Linked DNA regions of Homo sapiens: regions 1, 2, 4 and 5 are each linked to region 3. Evidence: promoter capture Hi-C in human tissues and cell types (Jung and others, 2019). All regions are on one chromosome and are shown on one strand. Each heading gives the region's core, a stretch centred on a gene start or on the middle of the fragment in contact. The rest is flanking DNA. Distances are from core to core; before and after follow the strand shown.

Region 1 (3,493 bases), core at 426-2,925, 280 kb before region 3:
CTCGGCCAGAGGCAGGAGGACCCCATGCTCAGAAGGGGGCTCCCCTAGATTGTGACGGGGGGGGACAGGGGAATCCCAGCTGAGCCCAGAAGGGGGAGGCAAGGCACCCCCAATGAGGCTCTGGGAGGTTTGTTAATTTGGGGGAATGAGGTCCCAGGAGGTGGCTGGATTTGAGGAAGGGTTGCAGAGGAAGGGGCGTTCTTGGAAGCTGCATATTTAGGGAGACGAGAAGACGATTTGAGACTGGGGAAAGAGGGTCAACCGAAGAAGGAGGTCCCAGATTTGGGGCGGGGGGTGTGGCTGAAAAAAAGATTCCCAGTTTGTGGGAAAGGTTCCCTGATTTGAGGATTCTGGAGAGAAAGCGGCCGAAGGGGAGTTCCCCAATTTGGGAAGGGGGGGAATTGGTGGGAAATGTCCAGGATTTGTAGGGGGAGGTCCGAAGGGGAGGATCTTAATTTTAGGAGAGATTCCCATAAAGAGAGGTGAACTTGGCCGCAACCTGGCCGAACCCTCGCACCCACGGCGCGGGCACTCTAACCTGGGGGGCTCCCCTCAGGGCACGCCCCGCGCCCCCTTTAACCCAGTGCCGACGGCCCCGCCCCCGGTATGACGTCACCTCCCCTCCCCCCGCAGCCCCCGGGGGCTCCCGGGGCGTGCGGAACCCGCGGGGCTGGCGGTTCCAGGGGCGGCTTCCCCACTCTCGGGATCCCCACGGGGCCCCCAGCGCGGAGGGGAGACTGGGGTGCTGGGCGTGCGCGTCTGCCTGCCAGAGCCCCTGGGGCTGGGGGCTGAGGCTCGCCCCTGGGTGGGGAGGCTGGAAGGGGGCGCCGAGGCCGCAGAAGGGTGGGGCAATGCCCGAGTGCCGGAGGGGCGACCTCCCATAAGGCAACGACAGGGCCCGGAGTGTTCCAGGGGAGACGGCGTAGACTAGGGGGTCTCCAGGGGAGGGAGACCCGGAGAGGGAAGGCGGCGGGCGCAGCAGCCCTGGAGCCACCCCGCCTGGAGCCACCCGTCCCGGCTCCTCTCCGCTCCGGGGCGCCCGCATGCCCCCCATCCCCCGGCACAGCGCCCCCTGCCTCCAGGACCCGCCCGGGGACCCGGGCCGGGCGCCGCCGGGGCCGGCACCGGCTCCGCACACACGCGCGCCCCCCTCCGCGCCTCTGCCCCGCCCGCAGCCCGGGGTGGTGCAGCCGGCGGCGCTGGGCAGCTTCCAATGCCGCGCTCTGGGCGCTTCCAGCCCAGCCCCCTCCCACGCCGCGGACGAAGCCCCCCCAGCACCCCCTGCCGAGCGCCCCCAGCGCGGCCCCGGCCCTGTCCCTCGGGGCATTGTCCGGGCGCAGCTACCGGGGCGCAGCGGCTGGGCGTGCAACTGGCTGCAGCCGAGCATCCTCCGAGCACAATGGCCGTGCAGGCTTCCCCGGCACAAAGCCGGCGCGCTGCCCACTCGGCTGCCTCCGAGACCCCCCTTGGAGCGCCTGCATTTTTTTTTCCTCTAATCCATGATTTTATTTTTTTTTTTGGCTTTACCTGGAGGCTGGCTGGGCTGGGCTCCCCCGGCTCTGCCCCGCTTCACATCGTGGCTGTTGCATGGGATCCGAGCGGAGCCCGAGCGCCAGCGGCTCGCGGCGTGCGCGCGCCGGCCGGGCTGCCGGGCGGGCGGCGCGAGGACACTCACTGCGGCTCGCGCTCCCCTAGCTCCCGCTCGCGCGCCCCCCCAGCCGGTGACGTCATCCCTTCCGCCAGCGCCGCCGCCGCCGCCGCCGGGTCGGGGGCAGGGCCGGCCCGTGCGCGTCACTGCGCAGCCGCGCGGCCGCCACGCCCCCCGGCCAATGGGACGGCGCAGCGCGGTCACGTGGCTCCGGGGTGTTTAAAGGGCCGCGGGAGCACGTGGGGCGCGGGGCTTCGCGGGACACGTGGGCGGCTGGGGTGGTGGTGGTGGTGGCGGCTGCGGCGGCGGCGGGAAGGGCCCCTGGGGCTACTGTCCGTGCGGGAGCCCCAGCGTCCTGGGTGCAAAGGGCATGGCACTTTCTGTGCGCTGCCCTAAACTGTGCCACGGCTCCCCAGTACCCTTGGAATAAAATCCCGCCTCCTCTCTGCAGCTCGCCGTTTCACATTAGCGCCCACTACCCTGTCCCCTCCCCCCCACCATGTCAATGATCCAGAAAAACCAGCTGCTCCTTCTTTGCTTTTTCAGAGATGGGGTCTGCCACCTGGGCCTCAGTACAGTGGTATGATCATAGCTCACTGCAGCTTCAAACTCCTGGGCTCAGGTGATCCTCCCGCCTCAGCCTCCTGAGTAGTTGGGCTCGGGTGATCCTCCCGCCTCAGCCAGCTTCTTACAGTTCCTCTAACTTGAGCATCCAAGAACTTCCCCTTCTCATCTTTCCAATTTCTGCTCAAATAAGCAGCGCCTGGGAGAAGCCCTCCCTGACAACAGCTACCAGCCACGCCCCACTCCACTCTATCCCATTATCCCGGTTTGTTGTTGTTGTTGTTGTTTGTTTGGTTTTGAGTCGGAGTCTCACTCTGTCGCCCAGGCTGGAATGCAGTGGCGTGATCGCGGCTCACTGTAACCTCCGCCTCCTGGATTCAAGCTATTCTCCTGTCTCAGCCTCCGGAGTAGCTGGAATTACAGGCGTGCTGTCACCACGCCTGGCTAATTTTTGTATTTTTGTTAGAGACAGTGTTTCACCATGTTGGCCAGGCTGGTCTTGAACTCCTGACCTCAGTGATCCGTCCACCTCGGCCTCCCAAAGTGCTGGGATTACAGGCGTGAGCCACCGCGCCTGGTCCCATTATCCCGTTTTTATTCTAGTTACACTACAGTGTGGCTCCAGAGATCCCTATTGTAGGTTGAACACATGAATGAATGGATGATGGAGCACTTCTTATAGAGTAAGCACTTTACACAGGTCTCACCTAATTACCATCCCCTGCTTCCCTGGAGTCAGGACGAGCCACAGTTGGAACCCAGCTAAAACACTGATTTGCTGTGTGAGGCCCGGAGCCTCACTTTCCCCATCTGTAGAATGGATTTGCCTCTGGATCTCAGCTCTCATCTGTAAAATGGGGCAAGGTAGCCCCTGCTCCTAAGGAGGGTGTGATGATGAATTGCTATAATGTGGCAGCCTGGCTGCCATTGGTGCCTGAAGATGGAATAATAAGAGAAAAGAGGCCGGGCCCGGTGACTCATGCCTGTAATCCCAGCACTTTGGGAAGCCAAGGTGGGCAGATCACTTGTCAGGAGTTCGAGACCAGGCTGGCCGACATGGCGAAACCCCATCTCTACTAAAAATACAAAAATTAGCCGAGCGTGGTGGCAGGTGCCTGTAGTCTCAGCTAGTTGGGAGGCTGAGGCAGGAGAAACTCTTGAACCCGGGAGGCGGAGGTTGCAGTGAACCAATATCACACCACTGCACACTCTAGCCTGGGCGACAGAGTGAGACTCTCAAAAATAAGGAAAAAAAACAGAGCGGAAGTAAATAAAAGGGGG
Region 2 (3,744 bases), core at 928-3,427, 450 kb before region 3:
TTTTGTATTTTTAGTAGAGATGGGGTTTCACCATGTTGGCCAGGCTGGTCTCAAACTCCTGATCTCAGGTGATCCACCAACCTCAGCCTCCCAAAGTGCTGGGATTACTGGCGTGAGCCACCGTGCCTGGCCCATCTAATATTTTTTTAAATGTTTATTGAGACCTTATTTACATATCAGTCAATAAACATATCTTCAGTTGTATGGTTCAATAAGTTTGACAAATGCATACGCTCGCATAACCAAAACAAGATATAGGGCACTTCACTCCCTCCAGAATATTCCCTTGTCAACCCTCCACACTCAGTGGCAACTACGGATCTGTTTTCTCCAACTATCAGTGAGAATTACATGTTTAGCACTTCATATAAATGGAATTGTGCAGAATGTCACCATTTGTGTCTGGCTTCTTTCCCTTGGTGCAATGCATTTCAGATTCACCCCAAAACAGCCATGTTTCTTTCTTTTTTTTTTTTTTTTTTGAGACGGAGTCTCACTCTGTTGCCCAGGCTGGAGTGCAGTGGTGCAATCTCGGCTCACTGCAGGCTCTGCCTCCTGGGTTCACACCATTCTCCTGCCTCAGCCTCCTAAGTAGCTGGGACTACAGGCACCCACCACCACGCCCTGCTAATTTTTGTATTTTGGGTAGAGACGGGGTTTCACCTTGTTAGCCAGGATCGTCCCGATCTCTTGACCTTGTGATCCGCCCGCCTCGGCCTCCCAAAGTGCTGGGATTACCGGCATGAGCCACCACGCCCGGCCAACAACAGCCATGTTTCTAAAGTGCAGTCCTTTTTCATTGCTGTGTAGTATTCCATTGTATTGATGGGCCACAGTGTGTTTATACATTTACCAGTTGATGGACATTTGGCAATTGCAGTTGGAGCAACTGTGAACTCATTCATGCACACAGCTCTTTGTGGGTATCTTGTGATATTTTACCCTCCAATTTCACTCAGTCTCATGGAACTTTCTCCTACCAGGGACACCTATGGTAAGGTGATTTCCAGCATGGGAACTTTGCTAAAGAAAGGGGCAATTGGGCCGGGTGTGGTGGCTCACGCCTGTAATCCCAATACTTTGGGAGGCTGAGGCAGGCAGATCACGAGGTTAGGAGATCGAGACCATTCTAGCTAACACCATGAAACCCCATCTCCACTAAAAATACAAAAAATTAGCTGGGCGTGGTGGTGGTGGTGGTGCATGCCTGTAATCCTAGCTACTCAGGAGGCTGAGGCAGGAGAATCGCTTGAACCTGGGAGGCAGACATTGCAGTGAGCTGAGATTGCACAATTGCCCTCCAGCCTGGGCGACAGAGCAAGACTCTGTCTCAAAAAAAGAAAGAAAGTGGCAATCGGCCAGATGTGGTGGCTCACTCTTGTAATCCCAGCACTTTGGGAGGCTTGTAATCCCAGCACCTGGATCGCCTGAGTCCAGGAGTTTGAGACCAGCCTGGACAACATAATGAAACCCCATCTCTACCAAAAATACAAAACAAACAAACAAGAACAAAACAAAACAAAACAAAACAAAAACAGCCGGGCGTGGTGGCTCAGCACTTTGGGAGGCCGAGGCGGGCGGATCACCCGAGGTCAGGATTTCAAGACCAGCCTGGCCAACATGGGGAAACCCCGTCTGTACTAAAAGTGCACAAATTAGTCAGGCGTTGTGACACATGCCTGTAATACCAGCTACTCAGGAGGCTGAAGCAGGAGAATTGCTTGAGCCTGGGAGGCAGAGGTTGCAGTGAGCTGAGATCAGGCCACTGCACTCCAGCCTAGGCAACAAGAGCCAGACTCTGTCTCAAAAAAAAGAAAAAAAAATTAGCTGGGTGTATGGCATGGGTCTGTAGTCTCAGCTACTTGTGCAGCTGAGGCGAGAGGATCTCTTTAGCTCAGGAAGTCGAGGCTGCAGTGAGCTGAGATTGCACCATGGCACTCCAGCCTGGGTGACAAAATGAGACCCTGAAAACAAAAAAGAAAAGAAATAGAGAGGAAAGAAAGAAAGAAAGAAAGGAAAGAAGAAAGAAAGAAAGAAAAAGAGAAAGAGAAAGAAAGAGAGAGAAAGAAAAGAAAAGAAAAGAGTGGCAGTGGCTGTCCTTGTACCTAATCATAGGACAGAGGGGAGACCAGACCCAGCATAGGTGAGGGAAGCCGTCAGGGTCATTAGTGGCAGCTGGTGTGTCTGAAACAGCCATGGTAGGGCAGCAGGATGACCCAGACAGGACCTTCGGTTTATCACAGGGGACAGGAGTGGAAATCAAGAGACCCTAGAGGGCCTGGGGATCACTTGAAAAGGGTCACAATGATAGCATCAGGTGGGGCTCATGGTCCAGCCCTGCCCCCCTGGAGAAGGAGCACAGGGCAGCCTCTGAGCCCCGGCCTCGGCATCAGTGCGGTTGACACCGGGGCCATCACCATCTGATAATAGGTTCTGTTTGGAACAGCTGCCTGGTGACAAGTATAATAAAACGTATTAACGAGGCCATTATTACTCCCTAATTAAAAGCTAATAACTAAGAGTTAATTGCCTTTAAAAGATGAAGCAAGGCTGGGCTGGGACTTATCTCTGTTTTCCTTTGCTTGCCTGGATAGGCTGATATTTGGGAACTAATTAATTGAGTCGAATCTTACAGGAAACTAATATCTCCTCTGCCATTGCGGCTGTTGGATTAAAAAGCGTTTGCTGTGTGTCTGGGCATTTCTGTGGAAAGGTCTCCTGTGTCCACTGTTCTTGCCGGGGCGGGGGTGGTGGTGGTGAGGCTTCAAGGTGCGGCTATGGGGGGCTGCTTGTCCTCTCCTTTCCTGCTGATTCTCCCGCAATGGTAGCCCAAGCATCCATGCAATTTGTGAGTCAGAATGCTCAGATGCTGTTCCAGGGAACAGACGGGCCGAGCTTATATCACAGATCTATCGTCGTCATCATCATCACCGTCATTAAAAAAAAAAATCAGGCTAGGCTCTGTGGCTCATGCCTGTAATCCCAGCATTTTGGGAGGCCAAGGCAGGTGGATCCCCTGAGGTCAAGAATTCCAGACCAACCTGGCCAACGTGGCAAAACCCCCTCTCTACTAAAAATACAAAACTTAGGCAGGCATGGTGGCAGGTGCCTGTAATCCCAGCTACTCAGGAGGATGAAGCTTAAGAATCTCTTGAACCTGGGAGGCGGAGGTGGCAGTGAGCTGAGATAAGATGGCACCACTGCACTCCGGCCTGGACGACAGAGCTAGACTCCACCTCAAAAAACAAAACAAAACAAGACAGTGCTCTAACTGCAAGCATACAATTCGATGGCTTTTGTACATATAAACACTTCAGTTACCAACACTTTAACAAAATAGAACAAGGGTTAGCAAACTCTGGTCCCTGGGCCACATTCAGTCCACTGCCTGATTTTGTATGGCCCATAGACTAAAAATGTTTCTACGTTAAAACAATTTTTAATAATATTCAAGCTTTTGCTCATTCTTTCATTTATGCAATTTTCTTTGAGATGGAGTCTTGCTCTGTTGCCCAGGCTGGAGTGCAGTGACATGATCATAGCTCACTGTGGCCTGGACCTCCAAGGCTCAAGCAATCCTCCCACCTCAGCTTCCTGAGCAGCTGGGACTACAGGCAACCCCGCCCTCTCCTCCTGCATTCAGCTTGGATGTTGCTTCCTCCAGGAAGCCTTCCATGCCTCCTGATGCCCATCTCTCTGGGTGCCCTAGGTGCTAAGGACGGCTGCGATTATGCCACTGCACTC
Region 3 (3,667 bases), core at 88-2,587:
AGGGCACACACTGTTCCTTACAAGTAACAACCTCCCATGAAACAAAGGCAAACCCGTCCTTGCAAAGAGCAACTCCGGGTCAGCTATCTGGGCCGCAAGCCCAAAAGGCGGAGGAGGAACCCCGCACAACTTGGGTCTCTCTGGGTCCAAATGACAAAGGAGAGGGAGGCTGTGAGCAGGAGCTCCAGAATTGGGGTCAAGGACCAGTTCCAAAATGGCAACTCAACTCGACAATGCCAAACCTTCGACTTTAAAGTTATATGATGGGACAAATTAGAACAGAGAGGCTGCACTTGGCCCGGCCTCGGTGAAGGGCTGGCCACCGCTGGTGAGGAGGAACAGCAGCCAGCCTGGGGAGATTCAACAGGTCCCTCAGTGCCTGCCACCTGCCGGGTCCAGGACTGGGTACCCACAAGCTCCCTCCCTATGCTCAAGTTGTTTGTTCCAGTTGCGGAAACAGACAATTCCCAACCCCTTAATATTTTGCATTTAGCCCCTGCTTTCAGCGAGGTGCGACACAAACGCAGGATGAGCTGGCAAGGAGGTGGGGCAGCGCATTAGGAAGGGCGCTCAGGAAGGTGATGTCTCAGGCAGACCCAAAATGACAACAAGGGGCCGGCCACGAGAAGATCTGGGGGACCCGGGTGGACAGCTTCGTAAAGGCCAAAGCCCTGGGGCAAGAACAAGCACCGCCCCCTTTCCTGTAAATGCTCTGGAGTCCGCCAGACACCCATTCTCCGGAGGAGGAAACTGAGGCACAGAGAGAAAGGCACCTGCCCAAGGTCACAGAGCCAAGGCTCGATCGGGAGCCCCAGGAGGGGTCCCGGGGCCACCCTGGTAGCGGAGAAGACCGCACGCTGAGCGCGCTTGAGGAGAAAAGGTGGAAAGAGGATAGGAAGGGAGGCACAGAGAGGAGCGGTGACGGGCCAAGGTCACACAGCCGGCCCCCTGGGTGCCCGACACCTCGAACCGGGGTCGGCCAAGACGCGGGGCGAACCCAGGGCGCCCCGGGTCCGGGAGCCGCGGTGACAGGTGCAGGCGGGGGCGTGCCCGGGCCTCCTGCGCCACCCCCGAGCCCCGCGCCGCCTCACCTTCTTGAGCCGCTCCATCAGGACGCTCTTGTTGCCGCCCGTGTCCAGGTTCCGCTTCTTCAGCTCCGCCCGCAGATCGATCACCCGCAGCTCGCTGAGCCGCCTCGTCCCAGTCTCCGCAACGCCCGGGCCGAGAGAAGCCGTGCCAGGGCCCGAGTCGCCCGACCCGGGCAGAGTCTCCGCCATCGTCGCGTTCCCGTCTTCGCCACCGACTCAGTCGCACACCGCCGGCAGCTATAGCGGCTCTGAACACAAAATGGCGCCGCCTAAGAGGAAAACGCACTCGTTTCCTCCCGCCCCGCTTTGCGGCCGCGCACGCGCACGCGCACCGCCCCCACTAGCGTACTTAGCAGCAAGGACGCTCGCGCGTCCACCAACCGCGGGTTCCCCGGCACAACGCGCAAGCGCTGAATCTGCAGCTCGCATGCGTCCCGGCAGTTCCCGGCGGGAGGCTGACGAGACGCAACGCGTCTGCGCACATCCCCGCGTTGTTCTCACTGCGCATGTGCAGTTGCAACCGGGATACTAGAACCTACGCTTGGTGCGCCTGCGCAGAAGCGAGGCGCGCTGGGGCGACTGGAGCGGTTCCCTCGCAGGCGGCGCCATTTTGTGCTAGGAGCCTGATAAAACCGGCCCGGTTCTGTGGAAAGTGGGCGGCGGAGCCAGGGTCCCTGGAATGGCGGAGACTCTGTCAGGCCTAGGTGATTCTGGAGCGGCGGGCGCGGCGGCTCTGAGCTCCGCCTCGTCAGAGACCGGGACGCGGCGCCTCAGCGACCTGCGAGTGATCGATCTGCGGGCGGAGCTGAGGAAACGGAATGTGGACTCGAGCGGCAACAAGAGCGTTTTGATGGAGCGGCTGAAGAAGGTGGATTTGGGGCCCCGAGGGCGGGCACAGGGTGGGTCTGGGGTCCTCTTGGCCGCGACGGTGGCTCGCGGGCCCTGGCGTCCGCCCCCGGCCGCGTTCGCGGCCTCGCCGGACCTGGCGCTCTCGCGTCCCCCGGCTCCTCCGAGGCCCCGGAGAGAGTTCCTTGGCCGGCTGGGCCTGGGTTCAAATCCTAACGCCGCAATGGGGCCAGGAGAACCACAAAAACGGCACGCGTGCAGGAGAAACGGTGACGGGTGACATCGTCCACTGAGAGGAGGGTTCTCCCCTCGTCTCGTCCCCTCCTCCGTACCTGGAGGGGAGACCCTGAAACCCTCACTTCCCAGGCGAGGGGAAGGGACTCGGCCAAGGTCACACGGCCGAGGACGGGCAGCGTCGGGATTTGAACCCAGGCCCTGGGATTCCTGATTCGGCTGCTTGGTTTCCCCAGGGAAGATGCTTTGTGACCCACAGGGGACCGACCAGCCTGAATCGGGGCTGATTTACAAAGGAAACACCCGTAGGACATACTCAAAGGGAAAAATAGAAAAAAACCCACCACAATCCAGTTTTCACGGTTTGCCGGTACTCGCTCGGTGAAGTAACGTGGCAGGAAGGAAAAGTGGTGTTGACGGTAGTGATCAGAAATGTGAAATGAGGGGAGACCCCGGGTGGACTTTAAAACCAGCCTCAGAACTGCCCGGGAGGCGGGCAGAGCCTGGGCTCCCCCAGCTCCGTCAGTCTCTCTGGACTTGGGGACCCTGCCAGCTCTCGGTGGCCTGATCTTGGGCATAGGAGACCTTGAACCCCTTCTGAGTCCTCTTTTCTATTCTTTTTTTTTTTTTTTCTCCTGTAAGAAGCAAAAAAGCAATAGGACTTTGATTTGGGGATTAAATAAGTTTGCGTGGAGCAGGCTTGGCGTGCTGCCTGGCGCATGTAAACACTCGGTGTGTGGTTGCCATCACGATTCGCTTTTCCTCTCTGTGCCACCACGAGTCCTCATTTGCAGATCGGGGGCTCTAACGCCTCCCTTGGGGGATTCAAAGGGATCCCTAGGAAAAGCAGAGAGGCAAGTAAAGGTTAGCCACCTGCGGTTTCCTTATTCCTGTAGCTTTTTTTCTCTGCCTTTTTTCCACCTGGCTACTCTGGGACCTCTCCCCTGTAGTTGCTCCGCCTGGCCGCCCACCCCCCAGCCCCTGCAGGCAGTGGGGCTGTTGACACATCCCACCATCCTGACTCCGGAACTACGGAGATCACAGGGCTTTATTATTAATTGGTGATGAGAAGAAGTAGGGATTTTTTTTTTTTTTTTTTTCCTGATGAGAAACCCTGGGCTCAAGGGTGGATAGTTGTCTCGGCCAGAGTCACATGGGCCTTTTAAAAGCTCAAGCTTGTGTTTCTTTTCACTATGGATTCTCTTTACTCAGATAAGGCAGGAAGCCCACTGATCTACATATTTACCCAGAGAAAATGCAGAGAGTGGAGATTGGCGGCTGGTCAGGTGTGGTGCCCCGCCACCAGGGCCTCCCATCAGCTAAGCCAAATTAAGAGGCTTTATCCTTTTTTTCTCCCTGGACGGTCCATAGGCCTGAAAAGCTGCTGTGATCTTCCTGTCAAGCTGGTGACTGAGACTTCCCATCACTCGCTGTCATCTCTGAGAGCACAGATTTGTTCCTTCTTCCTTCTCCTTTTCATTTTCTTCAAGATGTGGTCC
Region 4 (3,510 bases), core at 267-2,766, 490 kb before region 3:
TCCCCATGGAAGATTCCTCCCAGGGCTGAGCACAGGCCTCTCCAGGACTTGGAGAGGTTGGAACAAAAGGCTCCCGCGAAGCTTTGAGTGGGAGGGGAGGAGATGGAATCTTCGATTTAACCCTCAGCCGAGAGCTGCTGTCTTGTGTGCAGAAGTCCTGCTAAGCCAGTTTTTCAACTTCTGCTTCGGCCTTTCATTGGGGATGCATGTAGAATCTGAAAATGGTCTGGATGGCGTCTTTCATCCTGCATGCAATTGGAGGGGTGGGGAGAGGAGGGTTCTAGAAGCGCGTGGGATCACAGGGCGGGAGCTCCCAGGAGTGGAGGAATCGGCACGGGGACAGAGGAATGACCAGGGGCCCCCGCGGGCTGGCTTGGGAAGGGGTCTTGCCTTCTACCCAGGTATCCTTCCAGAAGGCATCTCTGGGGCCTCCGTGGACTCCCCCACTCCCCACACCCCACTGTGACCCTTTGGTGAGACCGGAGCATTTGCCTGTGAGACCATCACGGCCCCAGAACCCCAGGCATTCTGGGGTTGTGAGTGACAGACGCAGCCAGTGGCTCTGTTCTCATCCCCAGGGCCTCGGGGCCGCTTAGGGCCTTCCCTGGGCTCCGCTGGCGGTACTGTCTGGTTTGGGTTTTCAGAGGAGTCTTGGCCTAAGGGCTTCCTGAGTCCACCATGGGAGACCTGGGCCTCCACCTCGGGGAGCCTGCCCTGCCCTGCCCTGCCCTCCTCTAGGTGAACCAGGGGCAGTGCCACAGCTGGGCTGATCCCAGGACCCCAGGCTCCCCTTTAGGTTGGGCTGAGGATTGGGCCACAGGAGTGGGCACCCCACTTCCTGGGGACAGCACCCCTGTGTCCACAGGAGATGCAGGGAGGGGACGTGGGGAGATTGGGGTGCGGCAGCTGGCAATGGAGGCCATTAGAGTTCAATGGGAACAGGCAACAGGTGGGAGAGAGACCGCCGCGGCTTCTCAGCAGCAGACCTGCCTTCCGGGAGAGTGTCCCCGTCACGCAGCTCTTCCTGGGGCGGGCTGCCTTGGCTTCCTAGCCCTGGTCACGGCCCCTCCTGACTCCCTGTCGCACTCCTCTGGCACCTCCCTTGAGTTCAGTGAGTCTGTGCCCACCTAAGACAGGAAGGACAGTGTCTCTGAGTCTCGGCTGGTCACTGCCGACGCCCCCACTCAGACTCAGACCCCAGGACGGGTGTAGGGCAGCCGGGGCAGGGCTGGGCACTGAGTTTGGCCAGTCCTTGGCCCAGAAGGCCCTGGGTGAGTGGACGGCTCTGGATGTCCAGGGAGAACCAGGTGTTGGGGGAGGGGCTCAGAGGAACCATGTTTGGGGGCTCTGGCCTCAGGTGGCAGTCAGCCGAGACAGACGTGTCCCCCTCCTGTTGATGGGATGGGACGCTGCAGTGTCAGCTTGATGGGCATTGTGGAGAATGGGGCAGCCAGGAGGCAGGTGGAGGGGGAGCTATGGGCCAGGGACCCTGTGGGCAGCCAGGGCTGTAGACCCGGGGCCATCCCCTGGGCAGTTGGGGTGATTCCTTGGACGAGTTTTTAGGGGGCTCAAGTGTCTCTCTCCCTCTCCCCTCTGTTCTTCTAGAGGCATCCCCTTTCTCCGGGGAGGAAGATGTGAGTGACCCGGACGCCTTGAGGCCGCTGCTGTCTCTGCAGTGGAAGAACAGGGCGGCCAGCTTCCAGGCCGAGAGGAAGTTCAACGCAGCGGCTGCGCGCACGGAGCCCTACTGCGCCATCTGCACGCTCTTCTACCCCTACTGCCAGGTGGGCAGGCGGGCCTCACGGGTCCCAGAGAACCCCAGGCAGGGGCGGTGGGAGAGGGCGAGGGACCGGGCACCCCACACGCCTCCCTCTCTCACGCAGGGCAGGGTGTTGGCCAGCACCCCGAGTTGTGAGGGCTTGTTCCTGACAGCCGTAGGCAGAGCCTGGTCTCTGGGTTTTATTGGAATGAAGCTTACTAACGTGCCCATGTGCAACATGAGCCATGGTGGATGGGGCAGAGGGAGGCTGCGGAGGCTCGGGGTCACTGCCCTCAGGGAGCGCCCGTGTCTGGTGGGCGCTGAGATGGGCCGGGTGGTGTGGGAGTGCAGTGAAGGCCCAGGTACACCACCTGGGTGGCCGGGCGGGGCTCCCGCAAACCCTGGCCTGTCTAGCTGAGCTGGGCACCTGGCTAAGGTCCTGTTTCTGGTGCTCTTTCCATGCTGGCCTCGCCTGTCCTCTGCACCCAGATGGGGAGCTGGCCTCTGCCCACGGCCATCCCAGGCATCAGCACCCAGCCCAGCCGTTTTCCTCGGATCTCTTAGATCCCCCCTTCTCTCTTCCCCTGGGCATGCAGCCTCCCCAGGACAGGACCTGGCCACATGCTTTGCACTCCCAGCTCCTAGCCCCATGCCAAGCATGTCCAGGCATCAGCAGAGCTGCCCTGGGTTGGGGACGTCACCCCCCAGGCCTGTGCGCCGGCCGGGTCTGGGTGGACAGAGCCAGGGAGAGTGCTGTGCCGAGGGTGGTGAGCCTGTCTTGGGGCTCTGCTGCTGGGAGCTGGATTTAGTGCTCTGGTTCCTGAGACAAACAAGACCTGACAGCCGACACCGTCTCCAGGCACTTGCTGTCCTTTGTGAGGCCAGAGAGGCTGCTGGGAGCCACAGGGCCTGGAATGCCACTTCAGACATGCGTCTTCCTAATTCCCCTTGCCAGGCAGAGTGTGGAGACTCGTTCATCACACACCACCCCCAGCATACCCCAGCGCCAGGGGCCACCCAGCACCAGGGGCCACACAGGCCAGCCTGAGCTCTGTGTCTGGATGCAACCCTCATGGGAAGGTCTTCGGCGGGTTGGGGACAGGGTCAGACAGTGTTTGGGGATCCTGACTTTCTGGAGGAGTGAGAAGAGGGGCCGAGGTGGCTCTGGCCATCTCCCCGACCTCCCCCTCCAGAGCCAGGGGGTGTCGAAGCCTGGGGCAGGTGCCCTGAGAGAGGTCCGCGCCGCCCGCCCGCCTGCCCCACACATGGCTCTGTCCCCTGAAGGTCGCCTCTCCCCTACAGGCCCTACAGACTGAGAAGGAGGCACCCATAGCCTCCCTCGGAGAGGGCTGCCCGGCCACATTACCCTCCAAAAGCCGTCAGAAGACCCGACCGCTCATCCCTGAGATGTGCTTCACCTCTGGCGGTGAGAACACGGAGCCGCTGCCTGCCAACTCCTACATCGGCGACGACGGGACCAGCCCCCTGATCGCCTGCGGCAAGTGCTGCCTGCAGGTCCATGCCAGTGAGTGCCACTGTGGGGCCCAGAGGAGCTGCGCCCTCCTTCAGGGTGTTGGTGGGGGTGCCGGTGGGGGCTCCATCCTCCCCTGCGGAGGGCCACACCGGCCCCTCTCCCCAGGCTGCACTTTCAGGGCCAGGGCAGGGGCCTCCCCCGGTGACTTCCTGCAATTTCTGACTTTCTCATCCTTCCCGTTGTGGTCCCACCATCTAGAGCAGGGGGAAAGGCTGTG
Region 5 (3,599 bases), core at 144-2,643, 310 kb before region 3:
CCCTGTCTATGCAGGCCACTCTCTAAGTGCTTGACGCATATTAACTCGTTTTGTTGTGCCAGTTATTTATCTCAGATGGGGAAACTGAGGCTGAGGATAGGATGTGCCTTGTCCAGAGCCAATGGCTTGCTTGTAGCACCTGAAAACCCGCTATGGGCTAAGTCAGGAGCTGCCAACTCCATGTCTCCAGGGAGAACCAGCCCACCACTTCCTGGGAACCTCCGCAGGCGTCCTGCTAATGGGGGCGTTTCCATGCCTGCCTCTCTCACCATCTTCGCCACCTCAGCTCATCTTCTCCGTCTTTACCGATGTTCAGGACAGAGGCCTGGGAGTCGTTCTTGACTCATCTCAACCCTACCCTGCAGCCAACCACTTGGAGAAGCCAGCCAACCCTTCTGCAAAATCCTTCTAGAATACAACCCCTCCTCTGCCCCTGCCTGGTCCACCCCCATCATCCCTGGCCTGGATCTGTGCCGTCCCCTCTGCTCTGGTCCCCCAGCGTCTGCACTCATCCCCCACAGTCTGTCCTTTCTGCAACAGCCAGGGGTCGCCTGTGAACACGTCGGTCAGGGCTGGTTCCTCCTTTGCCCATAGCCCTCCCTGGCTCCCACCTCCCTCAGAGTAAACGCCCAAGTCCTCCTGGTGCCCCACAAGGGCCTGCACAACCTGCTCTGTCCTCTCCCTGCTCTCCCCTCCCCTCCTCCCCCTCCTCACTCTGCTCCAGCCACACAGGCCTCCTCGCTGTTCCTCCAACATGCCAGGTGCGGTCCTGCCTCAGGGCCTTTGCACGGGCTGTGCCCTCTGCCTGGAACACCCTCCCCTCAGATGTCAGCAAACATCATTCTCTTATTCCTGTTGGTCTTACTGAAATGTCACCTCTTCTGTGAGGCCTGTCTTGATTCTGTAGCTAAAACAGCCCCTCCCTGCCACCAACCAATTCCTCTAGCTTTTTTCTTTTCTTTTTTTTTTTTTTTTTGAGATGGAGTCTTACTCTATCACCCAGGCTGGACTGCAGTGGCGCAATCTCGGCTCACTACAACCTCCGCTTCCCCCGTTCAAGCAATTCTCCTGCCTCAGCCTACCGAGTAGCTGGGATTACAGGCGCCCACCACCATACCCAGCTAATTTTTGTATTTTTAGTAGAGACAGGGTTTCACCATGTTGGCCAGGCTGGTTTCAAACTCCTGACCTCAAGTGATCTGCCCACCTCGGCCTCCCAAAGTGCTAAAATTGCAGGCATGAGCCACTGCGCCTGGCCAACTTTATTTTTCTTAAAGGCATGGCATACAGTCAATCCTTAACACATATTTAATCTATTGGCTTTATGGCTTTTGTTTTTTGGGTGTTTCTTGTTTTTGTTTTTTGAGGCAGGGTCTCACTCTGTCACCCAGGCTGGAGTGCAGTGACGCAATCTCAGCTCACTGCAGCCTTGAACTCCTCAGCTCAAGTGATCCTCCCACCTCAGCCTCCTGAGTAGCTGGGACTATAGGCTTGTACCACCACACCCGGCTAATTTTTGTATTTTTATTTATTATTATTATTATGAAACCAAGTCTCACTTTGTCTCCAGACTGGCGTGCAGTGGCGTGATCTCACTGCAACCTCTGCCTCCCTGGTTCAAGCGATTCCCCTGCCTCAGCCTCCCGAGTAGCTGGGACTATAGGTGCATGCCACCACGCCCAGCTAATTTTTTTTATTTAAGTAGAGACGGGGTTTTACCCTGTTGGCCAGGATGGTCTCGATCTCCTGACCTCGTGATCCACCTGACTCGGCCTCCCGAAGTGCTGGGATTACAGGCATGAGCCACTGTGCCCAGCCTTTTGTATTTTTAGTAGAGATGAGATTTCACCATGTTGGCCAGGCTGGTCTCGAACTCCTGACCTCAGGCGATCTGCCCGTCTTGGCCTCCTAAAGTGCTGGGATTATAGGCTGAGCCACTGCGCCCGGCCCCTATTTGTTCATTGTCCTTCTGATGCATTCCACGAGGGAAGGGTTTTTCCCTCTGTCTTCTCCGTCACTCTGTTCCCAACACCTGACCCTGTGAGGATCAGGGCCTGGTATATAGGAGGTGCTCAATAAGTATCCAGTGATGGAGCTCTAGGCCCCCAGCAGGGTCCTGGGCCCAGAAAGGACACGACGGTTGTTTTCTGAACACACAGAAGCTTTCCTTGGGGTCTGAAGGAAAATTTTAGACCTGAAACCATCCCCTGGGTGGAGGCTGGGGGTGGGGATATAAGTATCTTGGGAGCAGCCAAGGAAAGAAAAAGAACATTCCTGTCTCATCAAAGCTGTTCAGGGGAGACCCGAGCTCCCTGGCTGGCGGCTGGGGTGGAGATGGCAGATGCTCTCTGCAGGGTAACTGGGCGAGAGGGAGTGAATATTGAAATGTGCATCCCTTGGGCCGGGTGCGGTGGCTCACGCCTGTAATCCCAGCACTTTGGGAGGCTGAGGTGGGTGGATCACGAGGTCAGGAGATCGAGACCATCCTGGCTAACATGGTGAAACCCCGTCTCTACTAAAAATACAAAAAATTAGCCGGGCGGGGTGGCAGGCACCTGTAGTCCCAGCTACTGGGGAGGCTGAGGCAGGAGAATGGCGTGAACCCGGGAGGCGGAGCTTGCAGTGAGCCGAGATCGTGCGCCACTGCATTCCAGCCTGGGAGACACAGCGAGACTCCGTCTCAAAAAAAAAAAAAAGAAAGAAATACGCATCCCACATGACATCTCCTGGTTGTGCGTGAGGCCTGTGTGTGAACGAGCCCTGCAACACATCTCATAGGAAAGCAAAAGAGAGAGACAAATGGGCATGTCCGTCAGGAGGGGCTGGGCATGTAGATGGCATACTACACAGCCCTGAAAAAGAATGCATAGTACGCAGCCCTGAAAAAGACATCCCTGGCTGTGTGCGTCCTGGTACTGTCAGTGAAAGAGCATGGCAGGGACAGCGGGCATAGGATGTGTGGGACGAGAAGGTGAGCACAATATGCCAATATTTGCAAATGCTATAATAATAGCAGCAGGGCCAGGCATGGTGGCTCACACCTGTACCCTAGTGCTTTGGGAGGTTGAGGCAGGAGGATTGCTTGAGCCCAGGAGTTCGAGACCAGCCTGGCCAACATAATGAGACCTTACCTCTACAAAAAAATACAAAAATTAGCCAGGCGTGGTGGCGCATGCCTGTAGTCCCAGCCACTTGAGAGGCCAAGGCAGGAGGACTGCTTGAGCCTAGGAGATGGAGGCGGCAGTGAGCTATGATCACACCACTGCACTTCAGTCTGGGCGACAGAGCAAGACCCTGTCTCTAAAAAAATTAAAAATAAAAATAAAATAATAGCAATAGTAACAATAACTGCTAATATTTATAGGTCACATACTGCGTGCCAGGCATGGTTCAAAGTCTTTTACACATAATATCTCATTGAATTCGAATTGTCTCCATTTTACAGATGAGGCAACTGAGCATCGGAGAGGTCAAGACACTTGTCCAAGGTCACACAGCATGGCGGCAGCAGAGGGGGGACATGAGTCCAGGCTGCTGAGCCCCAAAACCTGGCCTAGGATTTATTTATTTATTTAGACAGAGTCTCACTCTGTCGCCCA

What was found. The method cuts DNA at HindIII sites, captures the fragments that hold promoters and counts their contacts. A contact is called where the count stands out against the background at its distance.
Region 1: the fragment with the promoter of PTPRS here is called in contact with the fragment with the promoter of SAFB2 in region 3 in 3 of the 25 tissues and cell types used here (adrenal gland, dorsolateral prefrontal cortex and mesenchymal stem cells).
Region 2: a fragment that was not itself captured here is called in contact with the fragment with the promoter of SAFB2 in region 3 in 1 of the 25 tissues and cell types used here (dorsolateral prefrontal cortex).
Region 4: a fragment that was not itself captured here is called in contact with the fragment with the promoter of SAFB2 in region 3 in 1 of the 25 tissues and cell types used here (lymphoblastoid cells).
Region 5: a contact is called between a fragment that was not itself captured here and the fragment with the promoter of SAFB2 in region 3, in 3 of the 25 tissues and cell types used here (dorsolateral prefrontal cortex, liver and lymphoblastoid cells).

Annotation. Positions count from the first base shown.
Region 1 is chr19:5,339,137-5,342,629 of GRCh38, forward strand. It overlaps PTPRS (protein tyrosine phosphatase receptor type S), which reads right to left and starts at 1,676. Exons shown (of 38, transcript NM_002850.4): 1 at 1,528-1,676. RefSeq lists a silencer at 1,604-1,883. The HindIII fragment of the contact is 6,208 bases long and covers 1-3,493 here.
Region 2 is chr19:5,175,381-5,179,124 of GRCh38, forward strand. It overlaps PTPRS-AS1 (PTPRS antisense RNA 1), which reads left to right and starts at 2,366. Exons shown (of 1, transcript NR_186338.1): 1 at 2,366-3,084. RefSeq lists enhancers at 1,388-1,477, 1,488-1,537. The HindIII fragment of the contact is 3,308 bases long and covers 524-3,744 here.
Region 3 is chr19:5,621,439-5,625,105 of GRCh38, forward strand. It overlaps SAFB2 (scaffold attachment factor B2), which reads right to left and starts at 1,338. Exons shown (of 21, transcript NM_014649.3): 1 at 1,092-1,338. The coding sequence starts at 1,277. It overlaps SAFB (scaffold attachment factor B), which reads left to right and starts at 1,645. Exons shown (of 21, transcript NM_001201338.2): 1 at 1,645-1,956. The coding sequence starts at 1,768. RefSeq lists enhancers at 1-609, 1,083-1,422, 1,343-2,075, 2,076-2,807 and silencers at 963-1,082, 2,053-2,102. The HindIII fragment of the contact is 5,746 bases long and covers 1-3,667 here.
Region 4 is chr19:5,132,278-5,135,787 of GRCh38, forward strand. It overlaps KDM4B (lysine demethylase 4B), which reads left to right. Exons shown (of 23, transcript NM_015015.3): 14 at 1,606-1,784; 15 at 3,062-3,284. Among named protein-coding and RNA genes, the nearest start is that of PTPRS-AS1, 44 kb to the right of the region's middle. The HindIII fragment of the contact is 6,554 bases long and covers 1-3,510 here.
Region 5 is chr19:5,309,360-5,312,958 of GRCh38, forward strand. The region is part of intron 1 of PTPRS (protein tyrosine phosphatase receptor type S); the gene reads right to left. Among named protein-coding and RNA genes, the nearest start is that of PTPRS, 30 kb to the right of the region's middle. The HindIII fragment of the contact is 5,079 bases long and covers 1-3,599 here.